2 separate regions of the Homo sapiens genome follow, and region 2 is linked to region 1. The links are contacts of gene promoters, found by promoter capture Hi-C in blood cells and fetal thymus (Javierre and others, 2016). All regions are on one chromosome and are shown on one strand. The core of a region is centred on a gene start or on the middle of the fragment in contact, and the rest is flanking DNA. Distances in the headings are between cores, read along the strand shown.

The links. Contacts are between HindIII fragments. The CHiCAGO score rates a contact against its expected background, and 5 or more counts as called.
Region 2: a contact is called between a fragment that was not itself captured here and the fragment with the promoter of STUM in region 1, in 2 of 17 cell types (M1 macrophages and M2 macrophages). The highest score is 6.7, in M1 macrophages.

The regions. Positions count from the first base shown.
Region 1 is chr1:226,546,534-226,552,039 of GRCh38, reverse strand. STUM (stum, mechanosensory transduction mediator homolog) reads right to left here and starts at 3,276. Exons shown (of 4, transcript NM_001003665.4): 1 at 2,934-3,276. The coding sequence starts at 3,135. RefSeq lists a silencer at 3,998-4,292. The HindIII fragment of the contact is 11,252 bases long and covers 1-4,733 here.
Region 2 is chr1:226,838,699-226,844,204 of GRCh38, reverse strand. No RefSeq gene overlaps it. Among named protein-coding and RNA genes, the nearest start is that of PSEN2, 29 kb to the left of the region's middle. The HindIII fragment of the contact is 1,289 bases long and covers 1,429-2,717 here.

The DNA of each region.
Region 1 (5,506 bases), core at 2,027-4,526:
AATCTGCAATCCAGGAGAGGACTTGCAGGGAAGGAAGTTTCCAGAAAAAAAGAAAAGATCTTTGGGCCAGTGGTCTGGGCAGTTTCCAGAATGGGAGTTTAGTGAGGATGGCAAGTGCTGAGGACACGTGATAGATTTTCTCAGCAAGTTCTAACCTAACACTACTCCCTCAGGGAGGCTTTCTCTGAGCCCCCTTCCTTCGCCCCCAGGAAGAATTTCTGCTACAACACTCTGTTCCTGCTGCCATCCTAGCACTTATCAAATTCAGACAAAGTTGGCCTCAATTTTCCTCAGCAGTCTATGACATCCTGACTGATTTATTCATCATCACAACCCCAGTCAATGCCTGGCATGTGGTAGGTGCCTGTGTTGGTCAAATGAATGAGTGAATTGAAAGAAGCTGCATTTCATCAAAGAGCAGAATCAGCCATGAATATTCAGTTGTCCCGGGAGCTTCAGATAAGCCAGGAGGCCTTGGAGAAGTGGATCTGGGCCAAGTGGCAGATTTCCAAGAGCTGGGGCCATTTAAACCACTCCTGGGGAAGGGGGGCAATAAAACCACCTGCAAGATTGGTCTGAGCTGCTTTGTTGCCTGGGACTCCACTGCAGGTGGAGAGGGGAGCAGAGGGATCAAAAGCACTCAAAGAGCCTTTGCTTCTGAGTGGTCCAGAGGGCAGTGCTGCCCTGGCTGCAGCGACCCCCACCCAGAGATGGGACCAGTGCTCAGCTCTGCAGAAGAGCAAGATGGACCCACCATCCCCAGAGAGCTTCCTATGCACCAGACGCTGGGCTTTATGTAATCACGTTTCATCCTCTCAGCAACGCCAAGAGACAGGTGTGCCTGACTTACAGATGAGAACCACCACCAAGGATCAGGAATCCCTCATTCCGTGTGGAGAGGAGCAGGAGCCTGTGCACCCAGTAAACTGTACAATAGCAACCAAAGCAAAATTAAAAAAAAAAAAGCCAGGATTATGTCACTGAAAATTCAGAAATCTGTGCACCTACAGCTCACCTGTTTTATTACTTTTGTGGTTTGCATATCTTCCCTTTATTTTCTCCTGGTTTCTTATAATGGTTTGTTTTGTTTGTTTGTTTATTTGTTTGTTTCACAAAAATCCCATAGGATTCTGATCTCACAAAGGGAAAAGCTGGATCCCCAGGGCAAGGAGCCAGGGGTCAGCGGAATGGACGGTGCCCTGCAGCCGATGCTGTCAATGCAGCAGGGCTAAGGCTGGGAAAGGCACCTAGTGAAGGGAGACCAGGGAGGGTACACACAGGTACATGCGTGGGCAGCTGCTGTCTCCTGGGGCTGGTCTCCCACAAGGTGGTTTCCTCGTGCAGCAGTGACTTGGTGCAGCCCCTCTCACCTGGCACCAATGCATTTGTTTCCTCAAAAGACCATAGGGTGGCGTTTACCTCACCACTTAAAAAAAAAAAAAAAGGTGGATCAAGATGCATGCTGGCTCAGGAGGATCTTCATATCCGCCAGAGGGAGGGGCAGGCAGTCTCTTTTTACTCCAGCAGGTGAGAATTTCTGATAAAACTAGATTAACACCAGCTGGCCTCCTTGCAGTGTCTAAATGTGCAAAGAGAGCTGATCTGATGACACCAGCCAGGGGGACAGGCTGCTGGAGGCACCCCAGAAGAGAGAAGCCCAACTAAAGGCCACCTAACTTACTGCTCAGATAGGCTGCTCTGGCCGCAGCAGCCCCTTAGGGTAGAAAGACAAGTAAGCTCGGAGGGGAAAGTGAACGGGTCCTGCGTGGGTGGCTGTGGCCTTGGCTGTCACCGCAGCAGAGGCCCCTGCTAAGCAGGCGAAGAGCGAGGAGACCGTGAGAAAGGCCAAAGTCAAACTGAAAACCCCTTCCAGCTGGCCTCTGCTCTTGGGAACTTGGAACCATACGTTGGCAACAGGCTCGCCGACAGGGGCACGCTTTCTCCCGGAGAGGGCACTGGGGCGCCTGGTTCTTCGGGCGGGCACGGGAGAGGGGGGCACCTCCCAGCACGCAGGAGCAGCCAGTGCCAAGCTGGAGGAGGGGAGGGGCGTGCAGGCAGAGACCTGGGGGTGGAGTTAAGGGAGGGAGGGTCAGGAAAACTTCTCATTCCCTGCCTCCATTCACCCTCCTGCACCATCTCTGTAAGGGGCCTCTGCTTTAAAACGTGGGACATAGATGCCACCAGAACCCCTGCCGGCTGCCGGAGTCCTGCACAGAATTACATCGGCGCACTCTCTACTTCTCAGGAACAGAAGGGATCCGAGGGAGCTATGGGTTCATCTCTGGCCACATGCATCCAAACTAATAAAATCATCCCCCATCCCCCTGGCGCCCTGCGGGGTGCTGGCGGAAGTGCAGGTACCCCTGAATGAGGCGGAGGAGACTCTGGCTAGAGTTCTCGTCCCCACGCGGTCCGCACTCCGCGAACCAAAGGGGGCTGCAGGTATATCTAGCCCGGCTCGTCCTCTTTCCCCGGCTCAGCTGACTTCGACGCCCGGGAGTTTGATCCTCGCCGCCGAGGCCCTAGAGCTCATTCTGATCCGACCCCATTCCTCTCGGGGAAGTGGGCTCGCGGACGGATGCACACGACGGAGAGAAGGAGCAGAAATCGGGGCGCCGGGACGGGAGCCCTACTCCGAAGCCGGCAGAGCCATTCCGGCCGCCGCTGCGGGCTCCAACATTGGCCGCAAAGTTTCCGGCTCTTTGGGGCCCCGCCTGCGGGTCGGAGACCCCAGCGCAGCCTCTCCCCTCTGGGGTGCACACTCCACGCGCTTCTGCCACCTGCCCGGGGACGCCAGGAGCGGGCGGTGGCGCGTGGTCGCAGCACTTGGAGCGCGCGGCCCCGCCAGGAGGTCTCCGGCCGCGCCCTTCTCTCCCCCCACGCCCTCCCGCGGCGGGGTGGGGGTCGCAAGGGTCGCGGCAGCCGTGTCTTACCCAGTCCCGGCACGAAAGTGTTGAGGAAGAGGCAGATGACGGCCACGGGGAAGGGCATGTAGGGGATGGCGGCGCGCAGGGGGCCCTTCTTCTCGCGGACCTGCACCACCACCCCGCTGGACGAGGACGCCCCCCGGGGGTCCGCCGCCGCCACCGCCGCCGCCGCCGCCGCCGTCTCGGCGTCTTTGTGCGAGGGCTCCATGGCCGGGCGCGCTCTCAGGCAGCCGGGCAGCACGGCCGGAGCTGGCGCCCAGCGTACGGGAGCAGGAGACTGTCGGCTGCGGGCTCCGGGCTCCGCGCCGAGCTCAGGCGGCCGCCGTGCTCCGTGCGCCGCGCGGCTCGCGGAGACTCCCGCCCTCCGGCGTCCCCACACGCCCGGCGGAGGGGCGGGGAGGGCGGCGCGACACCCGGTGACAGCGCTCTGACGCCCCTCCTCGCCAGGCCCCTTCCCCGCCCCCTCCCCCCAACCAAAACCACCGCTCACAAGGAATGGAAAATCAGGGCGGAGGGAAAGCAGTGGAAGAGGACCGCAAAGGGAGCTGTTTGCCCAGGTGCTGGAAGGGGTGGACACACCTCGCCCTCCCAGACAGGTGAACTAGGAACCTTGACCACGAAGCCCTGCGAACTGGGAGTGTGTGCTTGGCTGACACCGTCGGGAAAGCCTCGAGGCTGAGTCCCCTGATCTAGAGCAAGCCTTTGGCCAGGGACATGGGGACAAGGGACGGACCGCGCGGCGCCTGACACCTAGTCGGCCTTCAGTGCATTGTGATTTAAATGATTTTGTTTGGGGCGAGCGCAGTGGCTCCCGTCTGTATTCCCCACTTTGGGAGGCCAAGGTGGGAGAATTACTTGTGCCCAGGAGTTCGAAACCAGCCTGGGCAACGTAGCGAGACCCCCCCCCCCCCGCCCCAGCTCTATTTTGTAAAAAAAAAAAAAAAAAAAAAAAATCACTTAAAAAATATATAGGAGTGAATTTGTTTCAAGTGTCAGAGAAAAAGCAATCCAGAGATCGGATCGATAATAGAGGAAACAGATTTGCAAACACCAGGCCAGGTCTCCGCAAGACTAGTTAAAAGATGGGACACTTCCCTACACACACGCACCAAAAGCAGAAAGAAATGCGCCTGTTGCAGGCTTGTTGGGAAGCGTTCACCATCCCCTGAACTATACTGGAGGAAACCTGAGCCTTCTGTGAGCCCGACGTGGTGGTTAAAGAGCCAGTGAGGACACAGCGCCGTCTGGCGTTAATAATGGGGCAGTTGGTAGAAGCAACAGCCGGCAGCTTGAGGTCCTGTTTGAATTCGATTTTCTGAATAAGGCTGCTTCGCCTCCGCACCTGGAAAAAGTAAACGGATGAAAGTTACCGCCTCTAACGTTAGGGAGGGGTTAAAGGCTTCGGAATTATCCAGACAGTCAGCAAATCGTCTGAATAATTGGAAGGGTGCAATAGCCTCCCTTCAGGAATAATAGTGATTATTATTATAAACAACCCAGGGTCTCAGAAGAGGCTAAAAGAACATGGGTTATTGTATACTTATACTTATTGTATAAGTCTCTGAATAAAATAATTTTAAAAGCAAATGGCCAGGGGTTAGTGATGATACTGGTGGACACACACATGCGTGTGTACACATACACAGATACACACACACACGAGTCATTAGCTTAGGTTTGGCAGTCAGAAGAACAGGGTTAAAAATTTTAGTCTTTGTTCAGCCACTAAAACCTGTATGGCTTAGAAGAACTCGCTTAGCCTTTTCTGGCCTGGAGTTACTGTGTTGGTTAAAATCATAGCAAGCTTCCATTTAATACACAATTATTGAAGGCCTACTAAGACTTAGATTCCAGGGAGAGAGAAATGAGTAAAATCCAGCCTCTGCCTTCAAGAATCTAAGAAATGAGCTGAGAGATACTGACAACTACAAAGATAGACTTACAGAAACAGTGAGGAATGTTGCAGCTGTGATGTGCTGGAGGTGCTGCGACAACATGGACCTATCTGTGAAGCCAGCTAGCGTGGGGGAGGCCTCGGGGAGGTGTCCCAAAGAAGGCGATACTCAAAGGGACTTGAGCAATGACTACAGTTAACTATTTGCAGATTTGTTTTATTTTCAACAAACACTTATTTACCCAAGCACTCTCTGCCAGGCATCATTCTAAAAACCCTTTACACATTTTAACTCTTTTAATCCTTACCATAACTCTACAAAGTAAGGATTATTTATTACCCCATTTTACAGATGGGGCAATTGAAGCACAGAGAAGTTAAACAGGCTGCACAAAGTCCCCCACTAATCAGTGGTAGAGCTGGCAGCTGAATGCAGGCAATCTGGCTCCAGAATCAATTCTATATAACCAGTATTTTATTCAGAGACCTAGAAAATAACCCACATTCTGTGAATATTCTTTTGCAGAGCACTTGAACTGTCTTAGGGCCAGTCAATCATTCCTCCTGGAGAAAAAGGATTTCAGGGACGTCAGTGGATTTGCATCCCCCAGTTTTCCAGATGATTTGCTGAATATCTTGGATGTCAGAAAGACATCCAGGCAGAGCAACAAAATATACAAAGGCA
Region 2 (5,506 bases), core at 824-3,323, 290 kb before region 1:
CAAACAAGGAATTAACAAATCCAGAAGTTAGTTCTCTGAAAAGATTAATAAAATTGATAAACTCCAGTAAGGCCGATTATGAAGAAAAAGAGAAAATATCAATTATCAATATCAGCATGAAAGGGGGGATATCATCATAGATCTTACAGACATCAAAAAGATAAAAAATGAATATTATTATAATGGCATGCCATTAAATTCAGTAACCTAGATGAAATGAGAAAATTCCTTGAAAAATACAAATCATCAAAACTGACACAAGAGTATACAAAATCTAAATTGTCCCTTTTAATAGGTATTGCCTATTACAGATACTGACTTCCTAATTTAAAACCTTCCCACAGATAAAACTTCAGGCCCAGATGGTTCCACTGGTAAATTCTTTAAAACATTTAAGGACAAATTAATAATGCCAATCTTATACAAACTCTTTCAGAAAGTGAAACAGGAAGGAATAGTTTCCAATTTGTTTGATGAGAACAGCAAAAAACTGTCTTGAAATCAAAATAGAACAAAGATGCCAGAAGAAAAGAAAATTACATACCAATATTCCTCATGAACATGGACATACCAATCTTTAACAAAATATTAGCAACTTGAATCCAGCAATATATAAAAAGAACAATACCTCAAGTCCAAAAGGAGTTTATCCTAGGAGTGCAAGGTTGATTTCATACTGGAAATCAATCAATATAATTATGAATGGAATAATGAAAAACCATATGATCATCTCAGTAGATGTCAGAAAAACATTTGACAAAATTCAATATTCATTCATAATAATTCTCAGAAATGCAGGAATATAAGATAATTTTCTTATTCTGATAAAGGCTATGTATCATACTTACTGGTGAAATACTGAATGCTTTCCTCTTAGATCGGGAAAAATGCAAGAATGTCTATTCTTGCTCCTATTCAACACTGCCTGGCCAGAACCTGATTTTAAGATTTCTACAAGGCCTGGTGCAGTGGCTCACAGCTGTAATCCCAGCACTTTGGGAGGCCAGGGCTTGGGGAATCACAAGGTCAGGAGATCAAGACCATCCTGGCCAACATTGTAAAACCCCGTCTCTACTAAAAATACAAAAAATTAGCCGGGCATGGTGGCACGCGCCTGTAGTCCCAGCTACTCGCGAGGCTGAGGCAGGAGAATTGCTTGAACCTGGGAGGTGGAGGTTGCAGTGAGCCAAGATCGTGCCACTGCACTCCAGCCTGGGCCACAAAGCGAGACTCTGTCTCAAAAAAGAAAAAAAAAAGAGGGTCCATAGATAGATGGTCACTTGAGTTCTGACAAAGATATCAAGATAATTCAATAGGGAGAGGAAGTCTCATTAACAAATATGGTGCTGGAACTATTGAATCAATGTACGGGAAAAAATAAACCTTGCCCCCCTATTTCATAAATCTAAATGCTAACACTATAAAGCTTCTAGAACAAATTTAGATGAATATTCTCATAACTTTGGAATAGGACAAATTTTCTCAGAGCAGTCACAAGAAAAGCAGTAAACATAAAATTAAAAATGGAAAAGTAGGCCGGGCATGGTGGCTCATACCTGTAATCCCAGCAGTTTGGGAGGCTGAGGTGGGTGGATCCCTTGAGGTCGGGAGTTCGAGACCAGCCTGGCCGACATGATGAAACTCCGTCTCTTCTAAAAAATACAAAAATTAGCTGGGTGTGGTGGTGGGTGCCTGTAATCCCAGCTACTCAGGAGGCTAAGGCAGGAGAATCGCTTGAACCTAGGAAGCAGAGGATGCAGTGAGCTAGAATTGCACCATCACACTCCAGCCTGGGCAACAAAGTAAGACTGAGACTCATTTCAAAATAATAATAATTAAGAAAAAAATTAACCCAGTGTGGTGGCATGCGCCTGTGGTCCAGGTGCAGAGGTAGGAGGATCACTTGAGCCCAGTTGTTCAAGGTTACAATGAGCTGTGATCACTGGTGACAGAGTGAGACCCTGTCTCTTAAAAAAAAAAAATATATATATATATATGTGTGTGTGTGTATATATATGTGTATATATGTGTGTGTATGTGTATATATGTGTATATGTGTGTATATATGTGTGTATATGTGTATATATATGTGTGTGTATATGTGTATATATGTGTATATGTGTATATATGTGTATATATGTGTATATGTGTATATATGTATATGTGTATATATGTGTGTGTGTGTGTGTGTGTGTATATATATATATATATAAAAGACAGCCACAAAAGTATGTCTACTGTGTGGTTTCATTTATATGAAGTTTAAGAACAGGGAAAGTTAATCTACAAGATAGAAATCAGAACAGTGGTTTCCTCTGGGGGGATAAAGATTAACTGAAAGGGAATACTGGGAAACTTTCCAGATGACAGAATATATTTTGTCTGGGTGGTGGTTATGTGGGTGTATACACTTATCCAAATCCAAATGTATCTTGTATATTCAACATACAGCTGTGTGTTTCACTGCATGTAAATTTTAATTTACTGTATAATAATGCGTAAGTATACAGGTGCATACTTATATTTGTGATGGACATCCCAACAACTGAAAAGTAAGTTCTACTTAAAGATGAAAAAATACGATACATTTAACTACGTATTTTATCTCCTCTTTTCTTGACCATTGTAAACATAGGATATCTTAAAATAAATAATAAAGATTTTAAAAATGTTTATGTTGTCTTTTCCTTGGTATTTTTCTCCGTGTAATTTAAGCTTAAAGAGATTTTGCCCAGCTAGAAATTTGGGAAAAAGGCCAGGTGCAGTGGCTCATGCCTGTAATCCCAGCACTTTGGGAGGCTGAGGCAGGTGGATCACCTGAGATCAAGAGTTTGACACCAGCCTGGCCAACATTGTGAAACACCGTTTCTACTAAAAATACAAAAAATTAGCTGGAACCTGTAATCCCAGCTACTCGGGGGGCTGAGGCAGGAGAATCGCTTGAACTCGGGAGGCAGAGGTTACGGTGAGCCGAGATCGCGCCATTGCACTCCAGCCTGAGCAACAAGAGTGAGACTCCATCTCAAAAAAAAAAAAAGAAAAAAGAAATTTGGAAAAAAAATATGTGTGTATATATATATATATATTCTGTATTTCTCTGTATTCCATCCAGAATTTGTTTGGAGGAGAGAAGGCCTGCTTCCAGTCACACAGAGGAAAGGCTTTCTTTTCACATCTAAATTCCCTCCCTTGAGCTCCCTGCTCAGGTGACTGCTTCTTCTGGCCAAGGGAAAAGAAGAGGTAGCAAAGCGTGAGACATCCCTTCTTGGTGGGAGTTATAGAGGGGGTCTATCTGCCCCCAGCAGAGTGCTTGTCCTTTTTCTGCATATGACTGTCTTTCTCTAAGTGGCCTCATTTTCAGATTAATACAGCTTGAAATTGGCCTGTTTCCTTGAAAAAAAAATTTCTTTTTGAGACAGGGTCTGGCTTTGTTGCCCAGGTTGGAGTGCAGTAGTAGCACAATCATAGCTCACTGCAGCCTCAACTTCCTTGCTCAAGCGATCCTCCCACCTCCCAGCTCAGCCTCCTGAGTAGCTGGGACTACAGCTGCATGCCACCATGCCTGGCTAATTTTTTGATTTTTAAAATTTTTTTGTAGAGACGAGGTCTGGAACTCCTGTGCCTCAAGTGATCCTCCTGCCTCAGACTCCTAAAGCACTGAGATTACAAGCGTGAGCCACTGCACCCAGCCAGTTCCCTTGAAATTAAAGTTCTTGAAATATTCAAAAGAAGGTAAAGCAGAAATAGTCACCTGAAAGAATAGGAAATTGCTCTTGCTGGAATAGTATAACCATCCTGTGAGACATATGAAGTGTTATACATTTGATAAGTATTAACCCTGGGGGAAATGATTGTTGGGTGATTGGCTTTGGTCTCTGGTATCAGACATGTGGACCTGGGAGTAGTTGGAAATTTTTGCAATATGAAGTGGCTGACTTACGGGGTTAAGTGCCAGGCTTGGTGGTACCTCTGCTTTATCCTCCAGCTAAAGAACAGCTAGCCTTGGCACAAGTTGAAGAGAATATTGGTGTCTCAGAGTCTTCAAAGCCAGGCCTATATGACAATTCCCATCAGCAACAGCAACATCTTCAAATTCAAAAAACTACCAGGGCCAGGTGCGGTGGCTCACTCCTGTAATTCCAGCACTTTAGAAGGCCGAGGCAGGCGGATCACCTGAGGTCGGGAGTTTGAGACCAGCCTGAACAACATGGAGAAACCCCGTCTCTACTAAAAATACAAAAATTAGCCGGGCGTGGTGTCACATGCCTGTAATCCCAGCTACTTGGGAGGCTGAGTCAGGAGAATTGCTTGAACCTGGGAGGTGGAGGTTGTGGTGAGCCAAGATCGTGCCATTGCACTCCAGCCTGGGCAACAAGAGCAAAACTAGGTCTCAAAAAAAAAAAAAAAATGCCAGGCAGTTAGTTAGTCTTCCATAGAGCTGCATAGCACTTATCTGAGGGTGTTTAGAGCTGAGAAATCAGAATTACCTGGGCTTTGTAAATGCTGCATAGTATGCCACTGAGATAAAACTGAAAGATCGTGACATGTAGCTACTTGCCTTTTTTTTTTTTTTTTTTTTTGAGAAAGAGTCCCAGTCTGTCGCCCAGTCTGGAATGCAGTGGCATAATCTCTGCTCACTACAACCTCCGCCTCCTGGGTTAAAGTGATTCTCAAGCCTCAGCCTCCCGAGTAGCTAGGATTACAGGCACTTGCCACCACACTTGGCTAATTTTTGTGGGTTTTTTTTAGTAGAGACAGGGCTTCACCATGTTGGCCAGGCTGATCTCAAACTCCTAACCTCAAGTGATCCACCCTCTATTTAATCACCATGGAAGACACTGCCCAGTGCCTTTCTTAGAACCCTTTTTGGATTTCTTCTGTTCAAATTGCTGTCAGAGTCAGCATATGATCCACATGAGGGAAATCAGCTCAGTTTTCTTAATTCAGAGCAGTTGGTTCTAAATAACTTTTGGCTGTTTCAAAACATCCAATCCACCCCAGAACAAAGATTTGCCACTAGTAAAGATATTGAAGAGAATGTGCTTTTGACATTTTTACCAGCAGGGTTGCAGATATATATCAGTTGGTAGTGACAAAGATTCTATGCTTGGCCAAATGTTAGTCAGACTCCTGAAACTTCTCCTAGGCCCATCTGTGCACCTTCTTGTAAAATCCAGTTTTAACAAGATGCTAAATCAGCTTAGCCAGAACCTCCCACCCTCCATATCCAGTCACTTTCAATATCTGATGGGATTCTTCATCCCCTGCTACCTGCCAGGTGATGTCTGGTTGCCCTGGCTTGTTTTCAGCCAGAATGCTGTTAGGTTGGGGGTGGGAGGGATATTGTGAAATATATACAGTATTTTGTCTTTGTCTCTCTTTTCTAGCACACTACTCCTAAACTCCTTGGGATTCCCAAAAGTAAATGTCTTTTTGTGTGCTAATGAGTTGATTAATGGCTGGCAGTCCCTAGGTAGCTTTAGGATGGGGCTGGTCACCCATCCGA